Linked DNA regions of Homo sapiens: all the other regions are linked to region 2. The links are contacts of gene promoters, found by promoter capture Hi-C in blood cells and fetal thymus (Javierre and others, 2016). All regions are on one chromosome and are shown on one strand. The core of a region is centred on a gene start or on the middle of the fragment in contact, and the rest is flanking DNA. Distances in the headings are between cores, read along the strand shown.

The links. The method cuts DNA at HindIII sites, captures the fragments that hold promoters and counts their contacts. A CHiCAGO score of 5 or more calls a contact.
Region 1: a fragment that was not itself captured here is called in contact with the fragment with the promoter of AUP1 in region 2 in 1 of 17 cell types (total CD8 T cells); the score reaches 5.2 in total CD8 T cells.
Region 3: a contact is called between a fragment that was not itself captured here and the fragment with the promoter of AUP1 in region 2, in 5 of 17 cell types (naive CD4 T cells, total CD8 T cells, naive CD8 T cells and 2 more). The highest score is 7.6, in naive CD4 T cells.
Region 4: a contact is called between a fragment that was not itself captured here and the fragment with the promoter of AUP1 in region 2, in 1 of 17 cell types (monocytes). The highest score is 6.7, in monocytes.

Annotation. Positions count from the first base shown.
Region 1 is chr2:74,211,324-74,218,282 of GRCh38, reverse strand. MTHFD2 (methylenetetrahydrofolate dehydrogenase (NADP+ dependent) 2, methenyltetrahydrofolate cyclohydrolase) reads right to left here. Exons shown (of 8, transcript NM_006636.4): 7 at 6,417-6,542; 8 at 718-4,204. The coding sequence ends at 4,041. SLC4A5 (solute carrier family 4 member 5) reads left to right here. Exons shown (of 31, transcript NM_133478.3): 31 at 1-2,041. Among named protein-coding and RNA genes, the nearest start is that of MTHFD2, 16 kb to the right of the region's middle. The HindIII fragment of the contact is 2,871 bases long and covers 3,913-6,783 here.
Region 2 is chr2:74,527,316-74,533,918 of GRCh38, reverse strand. It overlaps AUP1 (AUP1 lipid droplet regulating VLDL assembly factor), which reads left to right and starts at 4,213. Exons shown (of 12, transcript NM_181575.5): 1 at 4,213-4,339; 2 at 4,420-4,557; 3 at 4,637-4,787; 4 at 4,984-5,168; 5 at 5,430-5,502; 6 at 5,598-5,671; 7 at 5,913-5,979; 8 at 6,081-6,183; 9 at 6,329-6,448; 10 at 6,556-6,603. The coding sequence starts at 4,290. It overlaps HTRA2 (HtrA serine peptidase 2), which reads right to left and starts at 3,986. Exons shown (of 8, transcript NM_013247.5): 1 at 3,407-3,986; 2 at 3,098-3,302; 3 at 2,814-3,008; 4 at 2,548-2,580; 5 at 2,217-2,322; 6 at 1,994-2,063; 7 at 1,205-1,300; 8 at 600-1,099. The coding sequence starts at 3,912. The coding sequence ends at 934. LOXL3 (lysyl oxidase like 3) reads left to right here. Exons shown (of 14, transcript NM_032603.5): 13 at 1-37; 14 at 240-1,661. The coding sequence ends at 313. RefSeq lists enhancers at 2,880-3,089, 3,100-3,179, 3,210-3,279, 3,300-3,429, 3,885-4,767 and 1 more and a silencer at 3,820-3,909. The HindIII fragment of the contact is 3,652 bases long and covers 1,565-5,216 here.
Region 3 is chr2:74,264,165-74,271,524 of GRCh38, reverse strand. It overlaps SLC4A5 (solute carrier family 4 member 5), which reads left to right. Exons shown (of 31, transcript NM_133478.3): 9 at 6,261-6,421; 10 at 7,226-7,360. Among named protein-coding and RNA genes, the nearest start is that of MTHFD2, 69 kb to the right of the region's middle. RefSeq lists an enhancer at 4,263-4,342. The HindIII fragment of the contact is 1,187 bases long and covers 4,163-5,349 here.
Region 4 is chr2:74,869,863-74,876,907 of GRCh38, reverse strand. It overlaps HK2 (hexokinase 2), which reads right to left. Exons shown (of 18, transcript NM_000189.5): 4 at 4,489-4,608; 5 at 3,537-3,632; 6 at 2,965-3,064; 7 at 2,459-2,642. Among named protein-coding and RNA genes, the nearest start is that of LINC01291, 36 kb to the left of the region's middle. The HindIII fragment of the contact is 684 bases long and covers 1,671-2,354 here.

The DNA of each region.
Region 1 (6,959 bases), core at 4,099-6,598, 320 kb after region 2:
ATTGTTTAAAGGTTAGATTTAAATATAGATGTTCTCAAACAAACTTGTAATATACTTTTATGTCACTAGACCATCTTTGGAATATTTGGCAATTCTGCATATTAAGAAATGCTGAAAAGGTCCTATCTTTTCTCCCTGTCACATCCAATTTCCTAAGGGTTATATGAAAAGTTTGAACCAGCCGGGCACAGTGGCACACGCCTGTAATCCTAGCACTTTGGGAGGCCGAGGCAGGTGAATTGCCTGAGCTCAGGAGTTCGAGACCAGCCTAGGCAACACGGTGAAACCCCGTCTCTACTAAACTACAAAAAATTAGCCGGGTGTGGTGGCATGCACCTGTAGTCCCAGCTATTCGGGAGGCTGAGGCAGGAGAATCGCTTGAACCCAGGAGGCAGAAGTTGCAGTGAGCTGAGATGGCACCACTGCACTCCAGCCTAGGCAACAGAGTGAGACTCCGTATCCAAACAAAAAAAAAGTTTGAACCATCTGCATTATGGGCCTTGCTCCAGAAGTGTGACTGGGGCTTTCCCAGATTGAAAAGCCAGTTCCAAAACTCTGTTAATGAAAGAACCAATGCATCTGAGTGGATAAATGTTTCTAAAATAAAATAGTTCTTGTTAAAGTGAAATTTGAAACCACATGTTAAATCAAAATGATCCTTTAAATTAGTATCACTGGTTTTTCATACCTGGAATCACATTTCATGATACATTTGGGTGGGTCCTCCCTGCAAATTTTCAATGTTTATTCCCAAAGTCAAACTCCCATTCATGTGAACAATACAGGTTAGACAGAGGTAAGGTCACATTTTACATTACAACTTTGCAATATTAATCAACCTAGTACTTTAAAGGAATGATTGAAAACTATTTGGGAAGATAAAAACCAGTTTCAATGAAGCAAACCTATTCCTCATGAAACTTAAGATCAGTCATTTTATCTTCAATCCACATTTAATGAACACCAACCATGTTGATTTAATGCCTACTATGACCCTGACAGCCACAGTGCATCTGACACTTACTTTCTCCAAAACAACTATGATTTAAACCTTGAGTAAATCACTTGAACCTTGAGGTTAGAGTTACTATATTTGCTCAAGATGACAAATGCAGGTGCTTTCTTTTTTAAAGAAAAATGACACTAGATCATTAACACCTTGAGTATAGGACAGGTAATTGCCTCTGTAATTCCCAGCGTCTAGTGTAGTGCCTGGTCCATAGAAAGCTCTCAATAAGTGTTTGATTACATTTAATCTCAGAGCTCCCTTCCAAGGGATACTGCCAAGAGGTAAAGCTCCAAACCTCTACTCTTACTGAGAGCAGAATTTCTTAGAATTTCCAGAACCATCTCCTATGCTTAAGTATAAATTCTTGTCAGACACAGTGGCTCACACCTGTAATCCCGCTACTTGGGAGGCAGAGGTGGGGGGAATCAGCAGAGGTCAGGAGGTCAAGACCAGCCTGGGCAACATAGTGAGACCCATCTCTAAACAAATGTTTAAAAATTAGCTAGGCATGCTGGCACACACCTGTAGTCCCAGCCATTTCAGAGGCTGATGCAGGAGGATCGTTTAAGTCCAGGAGTTCAAGGCTGCAGTGAGCTATAATCATGCCACTGCACTCCAGCCAGGGAGACAGCTGGAATCCATGTCTTATAAACAATAATAATTAATTTTTAAAAAAAGTATTTATCATCCACACCAATCCTGGGGAAGCTAACAATCCACCCTTAACACATTTCAGTTTTAAAACCTGGCTGATCTGGAATAGAACTTTGTCCAAATTAAATTGTAGAAATGCTATGGATTCAAGAGTAAACCTGCTTGATTAATCAAACAAGCTGGAAAACTACTGTTAATTTCTTTGTTGTAAATTGATCACTGTAATTTTACCTTACATGTCATTTATATTTTGTATATACATGAACATTTTAATTTCCATAGCTTTTAACAGGTTGACATAATACTTCTCCATGCAGTAAGTCAGTCATTTTTTCCACTTGTAACTGTAATTCAATAAAATTTAATCCTGTCTGGTCATCTTGCTCCACATTTAATAATCTAGGTAAGCAGGCATGGATTAGAGACATAAGCTATACGTCACTTACAAAAACATCTCCAGCAAACTATCTAAACTTCTTTAAACTCCAGAGAACTATCAAAAGAATAACGCCAGCTGGCAGAAGAACGAGGACGGAGGTAGGTCAACTCAATTGTTTCTTCTCTTTCTGCCTCAAGCTGCCTAGAGCAGGAGCTACTTCTGCTCGCATGAAAGCCAAAAGCCAAAACAGACAAACCTATCCCTGCCTCAAGTATTTTACAGATTAAGCTCCTAGCTTGGCACAACCTGTTGTGATATAAGACTGTAGGACAGGCCAGGTGCAGTGGCTCACGCCTGTAATCCTAGCATTTTGGGAGGCCGAGGCAGGTGGATCACTTGAGGTCAGGAGTTTGAGACCAGCCTGGCCAATGTGATGAAACCCCATCTCTACTAAAAACACAAAAATTAGCCAGGCATGGTGGCATGCACCTGTAATCCCAGCTACTCAGGAGGCTGAGGCACAAGAATTGTTTGAACCCGAGAGGCAGAGGTTGCAGTGACCCGAGATCATGCCACTGCACTCCAGCCTGGGCAACAGAGCAAGACTCAGTCTCAAAACAAACAAACAAAGAGACTGGAGGACGAGGCTGGTTTCTCCAAAGCTCTTTAAACCTCTGTTTGGGTGTGGGTGGCCCAGGCCTGTAATCCCAGCCCTCTGGGAAGCTGAGGCAAGAGGATTGATTGCTTGAGGCCAGGAGTTCAATACCAGCCCAGGCAACATAGCAAGACCCCATCTCTACAAAAAAAAAAAAAAAAATAGAAGAAAAAAAATTATCTATTTAAGGCTATAGAAGTAAGTGTTACTGAATATAGGAATAGCTACATTGATTAAATGAGAAAAAAACTGGTTAGGTCACAACTAGGAGTCATAGGAAGACAGAATTTCAGAAATTCATACCATACCAGACAGATGTGTTTTATTAAAAAAGAAAGAAAACCCTTTAATCAGAAAGTCTGATTAAATTCAATAGTAACTCAAACTCTTAAAAAATTTCTGGAAAAGTCAACAGGATACATACATCACAGAAAAGCAGGCAGCTGCTGACAGTTCTTTGGTGGAAAAGTAAGTTGCGTACTTACCCAAGCTGCCCAAATGATTATCAAGCCAAGTTTGTTTTTCAAAAATAGGTTTTAAGATACACCAAAGAAACTATACAATACAAAAATTTAACAATGAAGTTAAAGTATATAGCAAAAGCCAAATATGACAACACACATGTATAATGTAGAAAAGAATCCTTTCAGTCCTAGAAAACTAAAATGGGGAGAACTTACTGAAGGGTAACATACATAAAATGAGTACTAATAGCAAGGAATAATCCTAAACATTTTCCCAATAAACTGACTAAGCCTCAAAAGGACAGCTTAGGAAAATGATTAACATGCAGTTTTTCTTTTTTCCTAGCCAATTCAGTTCTACTTAGATAAATCTGGTTGCCAATCAATACATATATAAATTAATTTTTTTCTGCTCAATTACTACCATTTTTTCTTTTTCACCTTTTCCCTAATTTTCTCTAGCAACACTTTTCCTTTGGTTTGATCAGTTGAACTCAAAAGGTTTGGTACCTAAAATGAGTATCAACTGTTATTGCAATAGCACTTGGGAAATGCAATCCTAGAAAAGGCGAATGTGTAACTGAGGTGCTTGACAAAGTGAAGCATCCATCCTCCATATGGTAATGTCTCCCATATTAATCACTAGGTTAATGGCTGCTCCTGGCTAGATCACAGGACCCTGCATGATACTGGAATGCTCCCTGGTGAGGTACTGCAGAGGTATGTGCAGAAACACCCACCCATTTAAGCTTTCAATAAATACAAGGCATCATTTTAAACCATTTCAGTAGAATAAATTAAAAATATTGCATTTCTATTGGCCTGCTTTGCTTCTTGAGCTGGCCTGGAGTGCTGTTTGTGACACAGAAGACACAGTAGTTAATTAGTGGCTACCCCAAGCTCTTTAGACTTCAGCACTTCTCGCTCTTCAAGCCTCAGCACCTTTTTTGCAGCAATAATGGTATTCTTCATTAGCATTGCCACTGTCATGGGGCCAACACCTCCAGGAACTGGAGTGATATACCCAGCTTTTTGTCTGACTCCTACATAGAAACAAGACAGGCAGGCTGCTTTAGTTATGGCAAAGGACATGTGTGTACTTTAATATATTATTAAACAAGCATGCAAGGAAAAAGTAACATACATAAGCATAAAACTCAAAAATCACATCTACATCATTCAAGGTTTTGTGAACACACTAGTAAAATAACATGCACATACAGAGTTGTTCAAGGAATATTTATACATCTAAGTAACCTATAAAGAAATCTATTAAAGAAATATCTAGTAGGTTAACTGTGTGGGAGTTGTAAGTATAACAATAATAAGCATTACCTCAATACCTGCCTATAGCATTTTCTTAATTTAATTTTAAGTATAATTTGTCCAAAGCAGAAAGCACAGTAATTTTTTAAAAGTGAGAAGTTAAAAAAAAAATTAACCTAATGTTAAAGTGAAAATCCTTACATACCTAGGCATGGGTTTGACTGCTTTAATAAAAACAGAAAGCTAGGAATAGGATTATCAGCATAGGCCGGGTACAGTGGTTCATGCCAGTAATCCCAGCACTCTGGGGGGCTGAGGCAGGGTGTGAGGTGGGGGAGATTGTTTGAGGCCAGGAGTTTGAAACCAGCCTGGGCAACATGGTGAAACCCCATCTCTACAAAAAATACAAAAATTAGCCAAGTGAGGTGACATGTGCCTATAGTCCCAGCTACTCAGGAAGCTGAGGCAGGAGAATTGCTCAAGCCCAGGAGGCAGAGGTTGCAGTAAGCTGAGATCCTGCCACTGTACTCCAGCCTGGGCAACAGAGAGGGATCCTGTCTCAAAAAAAAAAAAAAAAAAAAAAAAGGAAAGAAAAAAAGGATTATCAGCATAAAACTCGGATAAACATTCTATCTTAAGAACTGAAAGGAGAGGCCAGGTGCAGTGGCTCACACCTGTAATCCTAGCACTGTTAAAGGCTGAGGCAGGCGGATCACTTGAGGCCAGGAGTTCAAGACCAACCTGGCCAACACAGCCAAATTCATCTCTACTGAAAATACAAAAAATTAGCCGGCATGGTGGCTCATGTCTGTAATCCCAGCTACTTGGGTGGCTAAGGCAGAAGAATCACTTGAACCTGGGAGGTGGAGGTTGCAGTGAGCAGAGATCACACCACTGCACTACAGCCTGGGCAACAGAGTGAGACTCTGCCTCTTAAAAAAAAAAACAGAACTGAAAGAAGAAATCTACTAGTATATTCTAGTATTTCAGGGGTATGGTTTTTTCCTGGACCATTTTAACTTTCTAGGCCTGTGATCTCTCAGTGTGAAAATGAGAAATCTCTAACACTTTTTGGGAAACTCCATGGTTTAGAAAAATCACTTCATCAAATTTTCAAACTTGTTAAAAGTCAAGAAATTGCTTGAATTATGAAATAAGTCTAAGGAAAAAAACAATTCCCTGAAAAGTTTATAACTGCTCTCCATCACTATGATAAAACACCTAAAATAATTCTAGAAAAGCCATAATTTTAAAAAGGTTTCTCTAATTCTTATGAAAAGCCTACTAAGGCCAGGTGCAGTGGCTCATACCTGTAATCCCGGCACTTTGGGAGGCCAAGACGGGTGGATCACTTGAGGCCAGGAGTTCCAGACCAGCCTGGCCAACATGGTGAAACCCCGTCTCTACTAAAAATACACAAAATTAGTTGGGCGTGGTGGCCCATGCCTGTAGTCCTGGCTACTGGGGAGGCTTGAAGCACAAGAATCGCTTGAAGCTGTGAGGTGGAGGCTGCAGTGAGCCGAGATGGTGCCACTGCACTCCAGCCTGGGTGACAGAGTGAGACTGTCTCAAAAAAAAAAAAAAAAAAAAAAGAGAAAGAAACGAAGGAAGAAAGGGGTGGGGGGAGAGGAGGGGAGGGGAGGGGAAGGAAGGAAGGGAGAGAGATGGAGGGAAGGAAGGAAAGAAAGAAGGAAGGGAAGGAGAGAGGGAGGGAAAAGCATACTGACTGGGCGCAGTGGCTCACACCTATAATCCCAACACTTTGGGAGTCCCAGCTACTCGGGAGGCTGAGGCAGAAGAATAGCTTGAACCCAGGAGGCAGAGGTTGCAGTGAGCCGAGATCGCGCCACTGCACTCCAGCCTGGGCAACAGAGTGAGACTCCCATCTCAAAAAAAAAAAAAAAAAAAAAAGTAAATAATCTATCCTAAATGTCCATGAAAGGTAGTATTTATTGATTTCATTTTTAAAAATAAAATTTCACCATTTACCTTCAAAATCCACATCTCCAACCAACTTGGGTTTGGCAGTTACAGGATCGTGAACTCTATTTATTCCCACATCAATGACTGCTGCTCCTTCCTTGATCATATCTGCTGTGATCAGATTTGGAATACCTGGAAATGGAGAAAGGAAAGATCAACTTAGTACTGAAAACAGTCTACCTGTCAGATTCTTGTCTAACTTCAATTTCAAGAGACCCTGAAGAACTAATCAACATGTTTTATTAAAACCTGTTAAAAATATTAACTAAGGAACTATTTACTTTTATTATTTTTTTATTTTGGCTCCTGACAGGAAACAAAAGGAACCATTTAAACTTTATACAGTAAATATTAATATAAATATTTTGAAGCTTTAGGAATAACATTCACCCATCTAGACTATAATGGACTGCCAGAAACCGGTATTCCAATCACAACTCTATCCTCATCTTTGTAGGCAGCTCAAAGAATCATTACAAGGGGAATGATGAATAGCAGCTAGGCAGGCGAATTCTAAGATGAGGGGTACAACCTCCTCTTCTGAGGTGA
Region 2 (6,603 bases), core at 2,964-5,463:
GATGGACATAGAATCTGGGTGCACAACTGCCACATTGGTATTTGATGGGAAGAGCAACCCAGGAAGATTAGGGGATGGGAGGGAAAGACGTTCATTCTCTTTTCCATAGCTTGTTTCTCCATCTTCCCACCTTCCTGTAGAGCTCTCAGTCCCTCCACTTCTACCCACCCTTCTCCACAGTGCATCTATCTCCCTCCCTCTGTGCAGGGCGCCTCCCAAATTGCCTGTCCACTCTGCAGGTGATGCCTTCAGTGAAGAGGCCAACAGGAGGTTTGAACGCTACCCTGGCCAGACCAGCAACCAGATTATCTAAGTGCCACTGCCCTCTGCAAACCACCACTGGCCCCTAATGGCAGGGGTCTGAGGCTGCCATTACCTCAGGAGCTTACCAAGAAACCCATGTCAGCAACCGCACTCATCAGACCATGCACTATGGATGTGGAACTGTCAAGCAGAAGTTTTCACCCTCCTTCAGAGGCCAGCTGTCAGTATCTGTAGCCAAGCATGGGAATCTTTGCTCCCAGGCCCAGCACCGAGCAGAACAGACCAGAGCCCACCACACCACAAAGAGCAGCACCTGACTAACTGCCCACAAAAGATGGCAGCAGCTCATTTTCTTTAATAGGAGGTCAGGATGGTCAGCTCCAGTATCTCCCCTAAGTTTAGGGGGATACAGCTTTACCTCTAGCCTTTTGGTGGGGGAAAAGATCCAGCCCTCCCACCTCATTTTTTACTATAATATGTTGCTAGGTATAATTTTATTTTATATAAAAAGTGTTTCTGTGATTCTTCAGAGCCCAGGAGTCAGTGCTGGTGGTTGGAGGGACCTGCCCCCACTGGTTCATTTAACCCTCTGTCTCGGTGCCCTCAGAACCTCAGCCAGAAAGGCAAGGAGGAAATCAGAGCAGGAGCCTCATACTCTTGGTGATCTATTCATTCTGTGACCTCAGGGGTCACATATAAGGTCAGTGTTTCTCGTCCCCGCCGGATCTGCACTGCCAACTGGGATTGGGTTCGAACAGCTTCATAAACATCTTCAGCATTTTGTACCATCTGCTCCCCAATGGCCAAAATCACATCACCAGGCCGCAGACCAGCCCTATAGAGAAAAATGGACAGAGAGAAAGGAAGGAGTACAAAGCCTAGTTCAAGGACACATGCACACCTTGCCCATCCCCATATCACACTGCAGCCTCTCCCTCACCGGTGTGCAGGGGAGCCCAGGATGACTTTATGGATGAGTACACCATGCTGAACATCGGGAAAGCTTGGTTCTCGAAGCTGTAGTTCAGCAAGGATGCTGAAAGTACACAGATCACCCTATTAGCCAAACCCAGGCATTCTCCCCATCCTGAGTTCCACCTCAAGTCTCTCATCAACACATTGATAAATATATGGACAGGACATGGGCTAGGTACTACAAAATACAATGGCAACTCACTTTCTGTCTTCTAGCAATAAAGTGCAACATGTACATAAAAGATGTACACCACATGAGGGCACCAAATGACAAACAGTGTTAAATCAATAGCACTAATGTCATTCTAGAATACTAAGAGAAGCTTTAAGGGGAAAGAACTTAAGTTGAGCCTAAAAGGATGGATCTGATATTAACCATATAAAACAAGAACAGCATAAATAAAAAACATGGGAGTAGGAAATCAGGTTGGCTGAGTATTCATATAGGAAGGTATTACAGCCAGGTCTAGAAAGTTGATTTACAGACAGATGGAAAATGGCCCTTAAATGCCAAGTTAATGGATTGAAGGCTTGAAATCAAAGCAGTAACAGGATGAAATCAATCTGGTGACAGGTGTACAAAGTGGAGTGGGATAAGAAAGTCAAGATGATGAAGGGAGACAGCTCTTGTGATTATTTCAAGTGTGACACAGTTCATCTTAGATAAAGACAGAAATGAGAACAAAGCTCAATAGAGGTGCCCCCCTCTGATTACACTGGTCACATTACATGTCACTGTCCCTAAAGCTCATACCTGGGACTCAGGGTCAGCATCATCACCCCAATGTAGCGCCGCTGGGACCCACTGATTCCGGAGGAGGAATCTGTGACAGAGGGACAAATGAGCCCCACCCAGCTACATCCTTCCTTCCCTGCCCTCTTCTCCCAGTAGACCACCCTCCAGGAAGTCCCACTGAATGCCCTTCCCCTATTTCCACCACATTAAAGGAACCCGTTTCCCCATAAGGCAGGCTCACTCTTCTTTTCCCCACGATGCAGAAACTCTCGAAGACGATCAGAAGGGATGGCAAAGGAGATTCCAGCTGTGACCTTCATGGTGTTCACTCCAATCACCTCCCCATCCTGCAGGGATACAGCCCCCAGTTCCCTAGCCTAAACAAATAGTAGGGGATGGGGGCACCCGAACAAAAGTACCAGCAAGTGTTGGGGAGATCTGGTTGGATATTGAGAGATAGCCAACAAAGAACTGCTCAGAAACTTGACCAAACATCCTTGAATTAGGGGAAACCTACCCTTCCCACACTGACCTGGGGCAGGGATTCTTGGAAGGAAGGATGTCTCACTCACCAGGTTAACCAGGGGACCTCCAGAGTTTCCAAACTGTAGGACAAGGAGAAAACATGAAAGAGATCTGGGGATTCTAAGTCTGGGGGCATACCAGGATGTAGGTACTTTCTCCAAATTCTCTTCTTTCTCAGCCCATGAATAAGTGGCCACATTTTTGCAGCCTAAGCTCTATATAGGCTCATCCACCATATATCAGTTGGTGCTTGTACCACACAGCCTCTCCCCCCTCCCCCATCATTTGTCATTTCTCTCCTATCAGGACGCACATCAATAGCTGCATCAGTTTGAATGTATTCCACATTGGTTTGGGGGAGTCCCAGGTCTCTGGCTGGACGCTGAGCAGAGCTAACAATGCCGGATGTGATCGTGTTCTGCAGTGCAAAGGGACTTCCCATGGCAACAACAAACTCCCCTTGCCGGACATCAGCTGAGCGTCCCAGAGGCAGCGTGGGGAGAGGCTCCTAAGGGAGAATGGGTAAAAGAGACCTGTCATCTGAAGATGCGAGCAAATAAGCAGCTCCAACCAGACCTGGCCTACCCCAGCCCCCACCTTAGTCTGAATCCTCAGCGTTGCGATGTCTGCCACGGGATCCACAGCTGTGACCACGGCCTCATACGTGTCGCCGCTTAGCAGTCTCACACGGACTCTGCGCCGATCAGCCACCACATGGGCGTTGGTGACAATGAGCCCATCGGCAGCCACCACGAATCCTGAGCCGTTCGAGATAGGGACCTCGCGGCCCAAGAAAGGGTGCCTGAAATGGAGGGAAAGCACAGATAAGAGGAGGCTCTGACCCCTCCTACCCGCCCGCCCTCCAGCCTGTGGCTTCAGTGCCTCCCGGTCTACCCCCACCATTACCGGTCCAGGATCTCGATATAGACCACGGCAGGTGCTGTCTTCTCCACCACATCTGCGATGAAGTTGTACTGACTCCGGGGAGAAGCGGGCGGCGGGCTAGGGACGGCGGCGAGGACGGCCGGAGGACCCCGACCCCCGCCCCACAACAACAACAGCACTGCCCCCCCAGCGCCCAGCGCCACCGCCAGCCACGCGCGCGAACGGGTTCCAGAGTTCTCTGAGGCCTCCCGGGTCCTGGTATCTGGGGTCACCGCAGTCAGTTGTGCCCGGGGACCCGGGGTCCCAGACGTCAGGCATGCTCGGGGTTCAGTGACCCCAACAGACAACCGGGCCCAGAGACTGGGGGTCCCATAAGTCACTCGGGCCCGGGGGTCAGAAGTTCCTGACGTCAGCAGGGCCCGGAGGTCAGGGGTCAAACGGGGTCTCCTCCCCCAGCGAATGCCCCCCAAAGCCCGCCATGCCCGAAGGCTCCAGCCTGCACCCCGCCCCGCCCTCGGCGCAGCCATCAGCTCCGCCTTGGCTGCCTCCTCGCCCGCCCTACTCAGAGGCGGCACCCAGGACGCGAGCAGGCGGACAGTAGGACGCGGGGCACGCCGGTACCTGAAGTCCTTCAGAAGTGCACGCCGGGACCAGGATTCCGGGAGGCCGACTCCTCCCTGCCCCACGAATGCCGGGAATTGTGGTCTCCGCCGGACGCGAGTTGTGAGACGGCCCAAGGGGCCGCGGGGTATGCTGGGACCGCTAGCCCTTCCGGCGCGCCTCAGGACTTCGGGTCCCCTCACCCCGGGCGGATGCCCAAAGACTCCGCCTTCCCAAGAGCCCCTGCGGCCGGGCGCGAAAATGGCGGCGGCGGCGACGGCCGGGCGCTCCTGAAGCAGCAGTTATGGAGCTTCCCTCAGGGCCGGGGCCGGAGCGGCTCTTTGACTCGCACCGGTAAGAGACCCGGCGGGAAGAGACCGATCCCCGCGTGCTCTCGGCCTTCGGCGCCTGACCACTTCGCCTCTCGCCCCCAGGCTTCCGGGTGACTGCTTCCTACTGCTCGTGCTGCTGCTCTACGCGCCAGTCGGGTTCTGCCTCCTCGTCCTGCGCCTCTTTCTCGGGATCCACGTCTTCCTGGTCAGCTGCGCGCTGCCAGACAGCGTCCTTCGCAGGTTCCGACGCGGGCGTTCGGGGAGTGTCAGAGCTGGGTCTGGCCCGAGGCCACACAGTCACCACCTCCTGTGTCCCCAGATTCGTAGTGCGGACCATGTGTGCGGTGCTAGGGCTCGTGGCCCGGCAGGAGGACTCCGGACTCCGGGATCACAGTGTCAGGGTCCTCATTTCCAACCATGTGACACCTTTCGACCACAACATAGTCAATTTGCTTACCACCTGTAGCACCGTGAGTGAGAGCGAGGCCGAGAGCGCCACGGGGCGGTTCCCTGGGGCCCAGCTGAAGGCCCCCCTGTCCCCACTCGCGTTCCCCATGGAGGATACTGAGCCTTACCCCTAACCCCGATCCTCTACCCAACATGTCAGTTTTTTTTTTCATTTTCCTCAATATTTTTCTTCTTGCTTTCTCTTCTCCTGGTTCCCAGCCTCTACTCAATAGTCCCCCCAGCTTTGTGTGCTGGTCTCGGGGCTTCATGGAGATGAATGGGCGGGGGGAGTTGGTGGAGTCACTCAAGAGATTCTGTGCTTCCACGAGGCTTCCCCCCACTCCTCTGCTGCTATTCCCTGAGGAAGAGGCCACCAATGGCCGGGAGGGGCTCCTGCGCTTCAGGTGGGTTTAGCACAGGTATGGGGCGCCAGCTGGGTAGGTGGTCAAGCTTGTGGGCCCTTGAGTTTTTACAACTTTCTTCGGCCCTTAGACCCCATCATCTCCAGTTCATTTCCTTTCTGTCCACTTTAAGTTCTTTCTCCTGAATCCCTTCATTCTTCAATTATGTGCTTGTAGAGTTTGACAGTTGCCTGTTATAAGGCAGGTGTGAGCTGCTGACTAGGCTGGCTGGATTCCCATCCTACTTTCTCCTTCCTCTTCTAGTTCCTGGCCATTTTCTATCCAAGATGTGGTACAACCTCTTACCCTGCAAGTTCAGAGACCCCTGGTCTCTGTGGTGAGTGTGTGTTGAACAGGGAATCTCTGGGGCTTGAAGGGGAAATTTCCCATCCCTGGCCCTGGCTTAGGCCTCATCTCATGCCCTCCCCTCAGACGGTGTCAGATGCCTCCTGGGTCTCAGAACTGCTGTGGTCACTTTTCGTCCCTTTCACGGTGTATCAAGTAAGGTATTAACTGTCCTCACATTTTGGTCGCTGGGGAGAGGCTCACCTCAAGGTCAAGGAATTAGTGGCCTCTGCCCTGTCCATTTGTAGATCTTTATATCAAGGTTCTACCACAGAGGCAACACAAAGTATTTACAGTATTTACTATTTTCCCACCCACCATGCAAAGAGGTACCAAAGTGGGGAATGGTGACAGCCTCTACCCTGGGTGCCCACAACATAGCCCTGGATTGTTTCTTTGCAGGTGGCTTCGTCCTGTTCATCGCCAACTAGGGGAAGCGAATGAGGAGTTTGCACTCCGTGTACAACAGGTGGTCGGGTGCACAGACAGGGTGGAGGCGGGGTCCCTGCTTAGGAGGAGAGGGAGGAAAGCTTGAGATCTTGACACTTCCAGTCTTCCAATTCTCCCTAGCTGGTGGCCAAGGAATTGGGCCAGACAGGGACACGGCTCACTCCAGCTGACAAAGCAGAGCACATGAAGCGACAAAGACACCCCAGATTGCGCCCCCAGTCAGGTATGTGGTCTCTATACATTACAGCTTTTGGGGTTTTTTTTTTTCGGCCTACTGTGATTCCTCCCCTATTTCTGTGCTAGTTAGCCTCTCCTTCTAGTTCTCTACTTACCAGAATTTCTTTTTTCTTTTTTTCCTTTTTCCACAGCCCAGTCTTCTTTCCCTCCCTCCCCTGGTCCTTCTCCTGATGTGCAACTGGCAACTCTGGCTCAGAGAGTCAAGGAAGTTTTGCCCCATGTGCCATTGGGTGTCATCCAGAGAGACCTGGGTATGGGAAAGGGTGGCCCCACACTGGGAGATGGGCACAGGGAGGAAAAGTGGGTTGTGAAGGAAGAAAGTAAGTAGGGAGTGGACTCCCTTCTCTTTTCTCCCCAGCCAAGACTGGCTGTGTAGACTTGACTATCACTAATCTGCTTGAGGGGG
Region 3 (7,360 bases), core at 3,507-6,006, 260 kb after region 2:
CCTGAATTAATTAATTATTTTAGGCTCTGAGCCTAAGAAGTTAGAAACTTTACCTAGGATAGTCTGGAGCACAGAGTTGCCTGGATCCCACCCGTTTTTATTCTGATGTCAACTGGTCTAGGATATGACTGAGACATGAAGATTTTAAAGGCATCTAGGGTATTCTTATATGCAAGCAAGCTTAAGAATCACTGTCCTAGAACAGTGGTTTCTAAAGTGCTTCAGGTTGAGAACCATCCTAGGGTGTTATAGGAGAAATAAGCAGAATAACTGGCAGAGGCTTTGTGGAGGAAGGGGCATTCTCGCTGGGCAGTGGAAAACAGAGAGGAAAGAGGACATTCTACATGATCTCAGAGGTGATCTGCAGACCAGCAGCATGAGCACACCTAGGAGCTTATTAGAAATGTAGAATCTTTGACCTCATTCCAGACCTGCTCAATGAGGATCTGCATTTTGACAAGATCCCCATGCACATTAGAGTTTGAGGCACACTGGTGTAGTAGAATATGTACTGTAAATGGACTTCAGTTATAAAATCAGAGAAACTAAAGCATAGCATGACTGTGCTAGAAAGGAGACCCTTTCAGCTAGTGTTCTTGGAGCCATTCTAAGGGAAAGAGGCCATGTCCTGCTGTATAATGAGAATCAGATCCATGTGAGCTACGTTTGCCTGCGTTGGGACCCCATATAAGTTGAACTATCCCTAAGTCACACCATTCTATGTACCTACAGAGCAGGGGCTCCTGAACCCACAGGGTGCAGTCAGATAACCCGGGAGTTTCCATGGCAGGGTCACCCTCCTGGTGGGGTAACCATCCAGGCATTGGTTTTTGTTTTGTTTTGTTTTGTTTTGAGACGGAGTCTCGCTCTGTCATCCAGGTTGGAGTGCAGTGGCATGATCTCTGCTCACTGCAAGCTCCGCCTCCCGGGTTCACGCCATTCTCCTGCCTCAGCCTCCTGAGTAGCTGGGACTACAAGCGCCTGCCACCACGCCTGGCTAATTTTTTGTATTTTTAGTAGAGACAGGGTTTCACCATGTTAGCCAGGATGGTCTCGATCTCCTGACCTCGTGATCCGCCTGCCTCTGCCTCCCAAAGTGCTGGGATTACAGGCATGAGCCACCGCGCCCAGCCCCAGGCATTGGTATTTTTATAAATCTCTCCAAGTTATTCTAATGGACAGCCAAGGTTGAAAACCATTGCTATGGATCTTTGGTCCTCCATGTTTCCTTTTCCATTCAAGGTGAAAGTGAGCTAAATTTCTAGCTGTAGCCATTGAAAACACAAAATTAAGTTCCAGGTAGCAAGCTTAATGGTTCAACATCTGGATTCCCAAAATAGTTATAGAGGGGACTAGAGCGGTGTCCCTAGTTAAATGGTCTCATATTCCGGAATTTCTTAAATCAAATTTTCTGGATTCTGGTAGCAGAGTCTAGTTCTGGCATTGGCTTAAAATTGGAGACAAGTAATTTAGTGTTTATGCAGGCTATTCTCATGTGGGTTATCGCCCTTGTCTGTGTGTCTATGGGGTTAATGTTTGGTGTATGCCTAACACAGTACAAATAGTTGAAGTCCTGAGAGGTGGAGAGGACTGCATGTCTTTGCTATCTGCTATCTGGAGTTAGTAGAGGATGTTTCAAAGAGGAAGCATTGCTCTTATCACTCCTTCAGGTGGAGTTGCATTTGTATGGGCAGAAGACTGAAGAATGGGATGTCAGGGGAGAGAGCTGCCTGAGACTGTCTGGCCTAGGATGTTTGTGAGACAGTGAAGACAGCAACCCACTCAACTGGCCCCATGCACTGGGCCACATCACACCTTTAGGTGGGTGGGTAAGACCATGGAGTAGCAAAAGAGTCTTTGGGAGCAGGGTGACAGTTCAGTTTATCTTTTGTATTATTTTTGAGAAAAAAAAAACAATAAAAGGCAAGCTGAATAGGAGGTCGATCCTCAGGAAGAAAAGTTGAGCATCCTCTCAACTAAAACATTTGGACTGGCCGGGCGCGGTGGCTCACGCCTGTAATCCCAGCACTTTTAGAGGCGGAGGTGGGTGGACCACCTGAGGTCAGGAATTTGAGACCAGCCTGACCAACATAATGAAACCCTGTCTCTACTAAAAAACAAACAAACAAACAAACAAACAAACAAAAAACAAACAGCCGGGCCTGGTGGCAGGCACCTGTAATCCCAGCTACTCAGGAGGCTGAAACAGGAGATCACTTGAACCACGGAGGCAGAGGTTGCAGTGAGCCAAGCTTGCACCATTGCACTCCAGCCTGGGCGATGAGAGTGAAACTCCGTCTCAAAAAAAAAAAAATTTTGAACTTATCCTTTGGTCTATTCCTTGTAAACTCTTATGTTAATATACCTTTTAGAAACATCTTACTTTCGATATCACATAGTCTTGGATCTGCCATAATTTAAATGATATTTCCCAAACAGATTTCTCCACAAAAAGGTCAGCTACAACTTGTCTGCCTGGTCTCTGGCTCCAGCCCCCATGTTTCAGGTCTTCACCTCCCAGTCCTTCTCTAATTAGATCTCCCCATTCTGTGTCCATCTGATTCCCCAGGATCCCACCAGGTGCCTGGTTAACTTGTCTCAAATAAATGTATGGAATGAAGGTGTTAAACATAGATAATGCAAAATATACAGTTACGTGAAGAGGAAATCTGATGAAGGAAAAGATGTTCAATCTCACTAGTAATCAGAAGAGTGCAAATGTGAGATAATTTTTCAACTACCAAATGAACAAAGGTGAAAAAGAATGAAAATACCAAAGTCTGGGAGACTTTAGGGAAATGTAAGATCTCATTGGTGGCAGTGGGCACTGACATAAGCTTTCTGGAAAACAGTTTGGTAATGCTTGTTATAAATGTAAAAATGTGCAGACACAGTAATTCCACTTCTGAGAGTTTATCCTAAAGAAATTGTGGAGCAGGAACCAAGGATGTTCCAACCAGCCTTAATTAATAATAAAGAATAATTAGAAATAATCTGAATGTCTACCAGTTGAGAACTGTTCCTATCAATTATGGTACATTCAGACAGTGGAATACTAGAAGGACTTCAGAATGATGTTAATACTAATAGAGATGAAAGGATGTCCATTAGATACTATACCCTTAAGGTCCTTGTGGTGCCATTAATGTACAGTTAATGCAAACACAGGCATATGTGCATGCATGCACGAGGAGATCTAGAATGGCAGTTACCAAAATATCAACCATCAAGACATCAGCATGATGCCTCCTGGTTGGAGGAGCTTTGAATGACTTTGCTTTCTTCTTTTTTTATTGTTCCTAAAATTACAAAAGTAATATTCTTTATTTTTAACTTAATAGCTAACATTAACAGAGTGTATCTTGTGTGCTAGGCACTGCTCTAATTGCTGTACATTATTATTATTACTGAAGAAATCAAAGGTGATGAGAGATTAAGTAACTTACTCGAGATTTTCAGCTAGTAAATGATGGAGCTGTTATTCAAAACCTAATAGTGTTGCTTCATAGACTGTGCTCTTTTTTAAAAAAAAAAAAAATGTAGACGGACTCTCACTCTGTTACCCAGGCTGGAGTGCAGTGGTGCCATCTCGGCTCACTGCAACCTCTGCCTTCCAGGCTCAAGTGATCCTCCCAAGAAGCTGGGACCACAGCTGTGTGCCACCATGCCCAGCTAATTTTTTGGGTTTTTTGGTAGAGTCAGGGTTTCACCATGTTGCCCAGGCTGGTCTCAAACTCCTGAGCACAGGCGATCCACCCACCTGGGCCTCCCAAAGTGCTGGAATCACAGGCGTGAGCCACCTCACCCAGCCTAACCAGACTGCACTCTTGCTACACTAATTCGCCCCAATAAAGTGAAAGTCTTAAATCCCGCCCCAACAACAATCCTACTCCTCTGCTCAAAGTAATCATTGTTAACCATTTGACATGGATCCCTCCAAAACTTTTGCTTTCTCCAGACACATGTGTGCACACACACAAGTGTGTTTTTCTTTTTTATAAAATGGGATGGTAGTGTCCGTCCTGTCAGTATGTGAGTTCACCCACATATTTTTTATTTATTTCTGGGGGATATTCCACAACATGGACATACAGAATTGATGTAATCATGCTTCTACTGAAAACCTGGTGGTTTCCAGTTCTTTGGCCTAACAGACAAAGCTTCATCGAGCGTCCTTGTATACATATTACAGGGTGTGGCAGTGTAATTATATTCCTGTGATCGTTTCCTAGAAATCGAACCACTGGGTCAAAAGGCATGCACACTGAATGTTGAAACAGGCTGCCCACACCAGGAAGGCTGTGTCATTACACCTGCAGCAGATGAGAGGCCACCTCCCCATGTTTTCACTGACACAGGAAGTTGTCAATCTTTTTAACTTTTGCCAGTATTAAAAAATGAAGAATGTTATTTCATTTGTAGTAATTTAAAAGTCCATGATTACTGGTAAGGTTGAGCATCTTTTCATATGTTTATTGGCCATCTTCATTTCTTCTCAGGATTGTTTACTTTCTATTGGATAATTTGAGTTAATTGGTTAATTTCTTATTAATTCAAAGGAGCATTGTTATAAATATTAGTATTTTGATGCTTTCTTTGTTGCAGATATTTTTCTCAGTACATTACTTTTCTTTGAACTTGATTTATATGTTATTTTACTATATAGAAGTTTTCATTTATTTTAGTTTTGTGCAATCAAATCTGTCCATTTTTTTCCTTTATGGTTTTATACCTTGTTTAGGAAGTCTTTCTCCACAATATTCTCCAAGAATATAAGAATACTCTCCTATATTCTCTTCTAGTATATTTGCATTTTTGCTTATAGATTTATTTTTATCTTTAGACTTTAATCTATGAAGAATTTAGTATTGTGTTTGGTGAAAAGTAGGGATTTAACTTTCTATTTTTAGGTTGGTTGTCTTTTAAACAACTCCTTCATCAAAATCCTAATTCCGTGACTGGGCGTGGTGGCTCACGACTGTGATTCTAGAACTTTGGGAGGCCAAGGTGGGCTGATCACTTAAGCCCAGGAGTTCGAGACCAGCCTGGGCAACATGATGAAACCCCATCTCTACAAAAAATACAAAAATTAGCCAAGCGTGATGGTGCATGCATGTAGTCCCAGCTACTTGGGAGGCTGAGTTGGGAAGATCACCTGAGCACAGGTGGTCGAGGCTGCAGTGAGCCAAAATCATGCCACTGCACTCCAGCCTGGGGGAGACTCTGTCTCAAAAAAACCAACAAAAAACCTGAATTCCCATGGATATACAGGTCTGTTTCTGGACTCTTGTGCCACTGATCCCTTGTCTATATCTGGCCTGGAATCACACCGCTTTAATTACTGAAGCTTCTCCGCAAGTTTCTATATGTGCTAAGGCATGCCCCATCCCCATTTCTCTTCATTTTTGAACTTTCCTCACCATTCTCCTACATTTACCTTTTTTAGAGGAACTTTAGAATTAGATAGTCATGGTCCAAAAGTCCTCCCTTGGGATTTCAGTTGCAATAGATTGGAGCTACCCATGCATTTGTGGTTGACATCTTACAAAGGGGAGCTAGGTGTCTCCGGCCAGGACTCCTTGCTCCCCTGGCACTATCTGAGGCCTTTCTACTTGAACACCCAGCCCATGATTCCAAGTCTTCTAGAAAGGACAGATCCCTACACATCCTTGGTTTAATTTCTTTCCTTCCCTGGATGGCATGTGAATTTTTACCTGAACTTTCAGAGGCAAAAAGAGTGAAAAGCATGGAAACCTCAGACCTTGCAGGGGAACTCAGGGAGAAATACTTTTCGTCAGGGAACATTTTTCCTGCTCCCAGCAAACCACACTGAACACTCATGTGTGAACAGCCTGAGATAATCAGGTTCCAGTTGAGGCTTTTTAAAAAAACAGCTTTATTGTTCTAGAATAACTTAAAATTCTCTAATTGTAAGTGTACTGGTAAATGATTTTTAGAAAATGTATGGAATTGTGCAACTGTCACCATAATCCAATTTTAGAACATTTCCATCACTCCCAGAAGATCCCTCATGCCCCTGTATACTTCTCTGGATGCCACTTTCCTTCACATGACAGTATCAGGAGGAGTGGGGGACAAATGAGGGGATCCCCAAGAGATCCTCTGCCTGTGAGTCTGGGACCAACACCACAACCACATACATAGCATGAACCCACATGACACCCCTCTTTTGGGGAGACCCAGGTGAGGCCTCCTCCTGAGGGCCCTGGCCACACTGAGCCCCATCCTTACCCTTCCAGGTGGATAAAGTTTGAAGAAAAGGTAGAGGAAGGCGGCGAACGCTGGAGCAAGCCCCACGTGTCCACACTATCCCTGCACAGCCTCTTCGAGCTCCGTACCTGCCTGCAGACGGGGACGGTGCTGCTGGATTTGGACAGTGGCTCCTTACCACAGATCATAGGTGAGGCAGGGGCCACTGTGTGCATCTCTCCTGTGGTCCCTGCAAACCAGGGCAGCTCCCCTGACCTCATGCCTGCCCTCAAGTCTGTGTGACGGCCCGTCTCTGACACCTGATTCTGCAGAGACCAGCTTTGACTCTGTTGCTCCCAGGGCAGGATCATAGTCACTCCAAGTTTCAGTACCATGTAGACCTCCAGTAGAGAGGAAAAGACCATCCTCCAAAATGCCATCCAGAAATGTGGTAAAAGGGGAGAGGGCCTCTTGCATAGTCAGAGATACCTCTTGCCATGACAACCTGTTTCTTTTCAGGGTAAAATGGGTCATCATTCATCTTTAGGAAATTAGCTGTCATTTAGTGGTGTGTCGAAGGGAGGAGTTGGCTTGCCTTAACACCCCTAAAAATTTTTGTGAGTTTTGTTCTAGCACATTGGATTTTGCCAGAAGTATTTTGCCCAAAATACTTTTCTAAAAAGAGTTCATTTTAGGACTAAAACCATTGAACACAGTACTTTTGTGCCTCCTGGGGCAGTTTCATATGTACTGTTTATTTCACTTTTCATAAGAACATTGACAGAAAGAGCAGACACACACACACACACACACACACACACACACGTGCCCTTGAACAGGAGGAGGCCAAGAGTTGGTGATGTGCCCAGTTTTCCACAGCTAGTGGCAAAGCCAGGAGTACTTCCACACCCCCTCTGCCACATTTAATCCCACTAATAACAGGTGAAACTGAAGACTTCCATACCCTGGAGCTGTTCTGTCCCACAGGGATGAGGTGTGTATGTTTTCCACACAGATGATGTCATTGAGAAGCAGATTGAGGATGGTCTCCTGCGGCCAGAGCTCCGGGAGAGGGTCAGTTACGTCCTCCTGAGGAGGCACCGCCACCAAACCAAGAAGCCCATCCACCGCTCCTTAGCTGACATTGGGA
Region 4 (7,045 bases), core at 763-3,262, 350 kb before region 2:
AACATTCTGGAACAGCCTGTATTTTAGGTAAAGTTATGCGTAGGGTGGTAATCTTTAAAATTCTTCTCTAGCCAGGAAATCATTTTTAAAATTAATATCTTACATAGCCCAATATTTATTTACAAGAGAAAAAAGGCGATCTGATTAGATATGTAGCACAGGCCTAGAAACTCATCAGCTCATACTGTCCACCCCTGCAAGCCGTTCATGGGCTCCAGAGAAAATGGTGTGAAAACCACCTGGGGCAGGGGATGATGGGGCAACATTATAAAGGCAGGTTGGGATAGAGGAATCTGCACTGGGCTCCGAGCTCTAAATGACAGGTCTCAGGGGTCTGGGAGTGAAACAGGCTTCTAAGCAGGCAGGTGACAAGATGTTTTAGAAAGGCAGGGGACGGCCCCCAAACCAGCAGTGCGGTCCGGTGATTTAATTTTAACACTAGGTGGCACTGTTTTCTTTCATAATTGGTCTTTCTGACTAGAACTGAGAGGAAACCAAGCCCTGGTGATAATTCTTTTTGACAAAAGGCCCATTTCTGGGTGTTTGAGAAAGAACCTGTGTCTTAGAGGAGGCACATGGGCCTGCTGCCACTAACTAGGATGAGCCCCAGCGAGGAGGAGGCCCAGGACTGAGATGTGGAAGGGATTCCAAGGTTACCTTTCCGAGAGGAAACCCAGGCCTCCAGGAAGCAGCCTGCTCAAGACCCAAGGCCGAGTACAGCAGCATCAGGGCTAACTGAGAGCTGGCAAAATTGTGAAGATGACAGCGCGCATTTTAAATGTTAGTGCACCCACACAGGCAGAGCTTCAGGAGAAGGAAACCAGCGTGGATGGGAGCCTGGCTTCAACAGTAAGGAACTCCGTGTTGCTAAGTTTTTATTCTAGTTTTTAAAAACACTTTGTTCCAGTCAACATTTGGAAGATACTTACTTGGAAATATATTAGAGGGGACAAAAATTGTCTGTAGTGACTTCAGGGCTACCATGGATGACAATTTGGTGGGTGTCAAAGGATAAGCCGGGGGTGTGCTGTCATGGTCTGGCTGGCAAATTTGTCTTTTGACATTTGAAAGGGCCTTTAGTTCCTCGGAATGACTTGGGTGTGCCTCATTCATGGAGGCAGGCACTGAGTGACTTTTCAGCTCATAAACCTCTCATCAGCCATGGCAGACACAACCAGTATGATCCTCAGAAATTTCAAGTAAAGGACTCATTTCAACATGTGAAACAAGCTTGTGACTTAGATAAATAAACCATGCTTTGACAAAGCAAGGACTCTCAGGCCGGGCGCGGTGGCTCACGCCTGTAATCCCAGCACTTTGGGAGGCCGAGGAGGGCGGACCGCCTGAGGTCGGGAGTTCGAGACCAGTCTGGCCAGCATGGTGAAACCCTGTCTCTAATAAAAATACAAAAATTAGCTGGGCGTGGTGGCAGGCGCCTGTAATCCCAGCTACTCAGGAAGCTGAGGTAGGAGAATCGCTTGAACCCGGGAGGCAGAGATTGCGGTGAGCCAAGATTGCGCCATTGCACACCAGCCTGGGCAACAGAGAGAGACTCTGTCTCAAAAAAAAAAAAAAAAAAACGAAAGCAAGGACTCTCCTGGGTTACCCACCACTGACTTGATTTATAGGGTTCAATTTTCCTGTCCAAGTAGAGATCTGCACGAAAAGCTTTTCTACAACAGTCACAAGACCAGAGATGATCTGTATTGCTCAAAATATTTTGCAACTGCTTCAGACCTTGAAGCAATCCCTGTTTCAAGATCTTTCACACGCACATTTGGCAAATGTTTGTGAGGGTGAAATAAGGTTTTGTAAGAGATAAAAGCAACTAAAAACAAAGGCAGGCCAGGCTGGAGAATACAATATTCAGGATCCAAAATGCTAGACGCCCCTCCTCCAATCCATCCCAGGACATAGTTGGGCCAAGGTCCAAGTGAAGGAGGCCAAGGAAGCTCCTCAGCCAATGTCTCCAGGGGCCATGGGTCTGCCTGCAGCTGCAGCAGGAGGCCCTGGGACCCCAGGGAGCAGCAATGAGCAGCCAGCTGTCAGCCTGTCCTCTGGGTGGTGATGGAGTTGGAGCTATGAAAGGAGCTTTCAGAGACCCCAATCTTGGCCACCTCAACACAACTTTCCTTAGGTGGCTCACAGTTCCCATGGACAATTTACAAATAGAAGGTGGAAAGAAAGAGCAGGGCCACCCACTTACACTCAGAATAGAACCTTCCAAAATGACTCCTGTGAAGGAAACACATTATTAGCTATAATCTGGTATATCCGCTTGCTCTCTGTTTTAGATCCTCTCAGCAATTTATAGTCACAGACATTCCTATGACCAGTGGCCACCTTGGCAAGCTTTGGGGATGTAAGACTGTAAAGAAACAACCCCCTGGCCCCGACCAGCCCCAGACTCAGCTCCAGGCCCCCGCCAAGCCCACTCGCACAGGAAGGGCCTACTCACAGTTGCTTTCCCGGGTTCAGTGAGCCCATGTCAATCTCCTGGTCAAACTCAGTGCGAATGTCGTTGAGCGAGCCATCGTCCCCGAAGGCCCCCCACTCCATATTGATACACATCCGCCCCTCATCGCCTTCCACCATGTCGATGTGGCGCATCTCTTCCATGTAGCAGGCGTTGCTGCCCGTGCCTGCCAAAACAAGGGACGGCTATGCACACGCCTGCTCCGGCCCCTTCCCACCCCTCTTCCCTCTTATACTACTGTCCCGAGACTGCCCGGCCAGGATGGCTGGGATTTCTCACTGCAGACTCTGGGGGCATCACAATACATGGTCTAATCTTCTGCCACCCCCAACTCCATGAGTCCCTGCTCGGCTCTCCAAAGTGACTGGACCATTATCTTCTAATATGAACTACAAAGGAACACCCAGCCCATGGGCCCCTTCTCCCTTTCCAGCCCACACCCCCATCCCTTGGCCAGCACGGGCCCTTCATGCACGGTGTTCACTCACCCACAATGAGACCAATCTCACAGTTGTGGTCATCATAACCACAGGTCATCATGGTCCCAACTGTGTCATTCACCACAGCCACAATGTCGATATCAAAGTCCTGTGGAGACAAATGGGAGGGCTCTGACCTTCATCATCACAGAGGGCGACTTTCCTAACACCAGCTATATATCACTCCTCCTCCTCCTCCTCCTCCTTCTCTCTCTCTCCCCCCTCCCTCCCCATAACTCCTCCTGTGATAAGACTTTTAATTCATTCTCTCTCTGAGCCATTCCACTCCCATGTCAACATCATTCCAACTTTCTTACTTGGAAATCACATTCAAGTCTTCTTCAGGTTAAGAACTAAAGAGCTTTTCTTGTGCCAAGGCTAAGATTATTTATCCATTTGATAATCTAAAAACCCCCAAAGCAGCAGATCGCATACAAAATTATTGAGTACATGTGTCAGGGAAAAGAGAACTCTCCTTAAGCTCCACGTAAGCAAACAATGATGAGTCAAGGACACTCAGGGAGTCTTCAGGGTGGACCCAGAAAAGCCCACAGACCCCAAGCTCCTGCCACCCCACTCACCCCTCTCCTCTGGATGGCCTTCCGGATCAGAGCCACAACGTCTCTGCCTTCCACTCCACTGGACTTGAATCCCTTGGTCCATGAGACCAGGAAACTCTGGAAAGGGACCAAGAAGTGAATATTGATTTCCCACTAAAACTGAAACTCACACCACACCCCTCAAACCTCCGTCATTAGCAGAGACCTCTGCCACTGGGGTAAAGTCATGATTGAATTTGTGTGTTACTTCCTGGCTAGCCTAGGAAAAAGAAACTCAGGACAACTGGCACTATAAGACACAGTCATGTGCCGCATAACAATGTTTCAGTCAGTGACAGATTGTGTATACTGCGGTGGTAACAAGATTATAATAGAGCTGAAAAGTTCCTATTGCCTAGTTAGATACACAGATATCACTGTGTTACAATTGCCTATAGCATTCAGTACAGTAACATGCTATACAGATTTGTGGCCTAGGAGTTAACAGGCTGTCCCATACAGCCTAGGTGTGTAGTAGTCTATACCATCTAGGTTTGTGTAAGTGCACTCTATGATGTTTATACATAAGTGAAATCACCTAATAAAGCATTTCTCAGAACATATCCCCATTGTTATGCAATACATGACTGTACTTGTGTCCTTACATCATTAACTCTCCAAGTATCTTTCTTCCAAGGGTCTTTATCATAACACTTTAGACTGGGGAGTTCCTGATTTCTCATTCCTGTTTCTGTGGAGGGGATAAGGATACTGTGCAATGTGTGTGGGAGAGAGGGTGATAAAGGGCACTCCCAACCCCCCAGATTTCTTCACCAGCCCCCCCATCGACATACACAGTCACCCAGAAAGGCAGAACTTCATCTCCACAATCCTCCAGTGCTACCACCACCACCACAGCAGGTGGCTCAGAAGTCCCTCTCAGCCCTCCCAGCCCCAAGAGTGAAGCAACAAGTGTCTGAGGAGCCCATCTTACCTCGTCTAGTTTAGTCTGGTGGCAGGGGAACGAGAAGGTAAAACCCAGTGGGAGCTTCTTGTCTTTGATTTGTAGCTTATCCATGAAGTTAGCCAGGCATTCGGCAATGTGGTCAAACAGCTAAGGATACATGACACAGGGTGGTGAGCAGAGAGGTCGAACAGCATAGAGATTAAGGGCATGCACTTCAGGCTCAGCACGTAACTAGCTGAATGTGTGCAAAACCCATATCTCCTCTGATATCTTCATTTGCTCACCTACAAAAAGGGAATTATAACTGGACCTGTCCTCATGGAGTTATGAAAAGGAGTACATGAGTCAATACATAAAGGCTTAACATTAGTTTTTGCCCACTAAATATTGTCCTCTACTTAAGCCATTTTTCTAAACTGCTGTCAAGATAACCCTGTGAGGTAGGGGAAATCATGGCCAACATTAATCAGAAAGTCACTTCATGCCCGGGGAACAGAACATTCTTTGGTGGCCCTGTCAGAAACCCATTGACATGGAAGCCCAGTTGACGATCATACCAAAGGCCAGCCCATCTTGCTGCCAAGAAGTATTTTAGTATCCCTGTCTCTGGTGATGGGGTGGGGGGTGGTTTGCAGGGACAGCATTCTCTGTTGGCATTCTATGAACCAACTTAACAAAAACAAGTAATTTTTATATTTTTTTCTCCATTCTAGAAAACTAATCTCCTGAGGGCAATTCAAAGAAGTTATCTTTGTTTTCTAACTTTCTAAACAGAACATCCAGTAAGTCCATGAAGAGCGCTGAGAAATAAATCACATTTTGTGGGTGAGCAGCCTCACAACCGTGACCGCACGCACTCACTGTGCAGGACCCAGAGCTCCTAAGCCTTAAAAAAGCTGTATTCATAATAAGCCAGGCTTTCAATCAGCCCCAAAGCCCACAATCCCCTGGCGTCCTTCTTGCCCCACCCTACACGCTCAAAGAGAAGCTGCTGACCCTTTAGGTGAAGGCTGAGACTAGAGGCATTCAGGTGTAAAAAGTAAGCAGAGGCCAAAGAGGCTGGGCAGATTCCAAGGGCCAGGTTGACTACGTGGCAAAATCTAAAAGCCAAGGTGGATAAGAGGTCAACTATCCTTTTCCTATCCAGGAAGGTGCAAGAAGATTCGACTAAACCATGGCTTTTCAAAGTGTGCTCCTGGAACAGCAACCTCACTCCCTTAACCTGGGAACATGTTAGAAATGTACATTCTAGGGTCTAGGCCCGCCCCCACAGACCGACTATAGCAGAAACTCTGGGGGTGGGGCCCAGCCATCTGTTAGCAAGCCTTCCGCCCTCCAGGTGATCCTGGAGCAGTAGGTTGAGAACCACTATGCCAAACCACAGAAAGTTCTTACATTTATAAAGGAACTGAGAGGTTGGGAGAGGGAAACTGACAGACCTGTTGGATCTCCTGATGCCTAGGGTATGGTCAGCAGGAGGGACCCAGGAAGACAAGGCCACCCCAATCTGGAAGATGGCCAGATCTAACTAAACTTCCCACATCCATTCTGTCTGTCCCTCTGTCTGATCCCATGCAAAGTTAACAACAGCTGAGGCTGAACCTTCGACCTCCAAACCAAAACATTTTCAAGAGCAAAGGCTGGGGAGGACAAGGCTCTCTTGCCATGGGGATCACCAGTGCAGGTGAGCCAACTCCCTTGAACAGAGTTCAAGTATTTTAACATGAAAATAGGGATATATTCAGCAAATTCTGTTCTGTCGGGAAGGTGACTAGAGATGAATTATATGATACGTATATTAAACAAATTCCCAGCACCTTCTTCCTGGCACTCTAGTCAAAATGATCTTTAGTACAAATAGTTTTTATCCCAAAAAAAAAAAAAAAAAAAAAGGGAGATGCAGAAGTTGTGCAAAGAGATAAGGCCAATCATCAAAGACTGGAGGTGGGGGTTAGAAGGGGGAAAAGCAAAATGGTTTCTCCTCCCCCAGCTCTGATCACTGCTTTCTTTCCAGTTGCGCTCCTAACATAGGAAGGTAGAGAAAAATAGACCGTGAAGAAGCATTAAATACTGCCCTGCCCAATATAGTAGCCACTGGCCATCTGTGGCTATGTCAATTAATTAGAATTTTTAAAACAGGCCGGCGCAGTGGCTCCTGCCTGTAATCCCAGCACTTCGGGAGGCGAAGACGGGCAGATCACTTGAGGTCAGAAGCTCAAAGCCAACATGGTGATTCAAAAAATTAGCTGTCTCTACTAAAAATTCAAAAAATTAGCCGGGCCTGGTGGTGCACACCTGTAGTCCCAGCTACTCGGGAGGCTGAGGAAGGAGAATCGCTTGAACCTGGGGGGCAGAAATTGCAGAGAGCCGGGATGGTGCCACCGCACTCTTGGGTGTCACGCTTGGGTGACAGAGTGAGACTGTCTCAAAAAAAAAAAAAAAAAAGAAAAGAAAAGAAAAAAGACCTTAAAAATTCAGTTCCTCCGTCACACCAGCCACACTTCAAGGGCTCGATGCCACAGGGTCAGTGCCTATCATATTGCACAGGGAAGATAGGAGACAGTTCCATTGCTGCAAGAAGTTC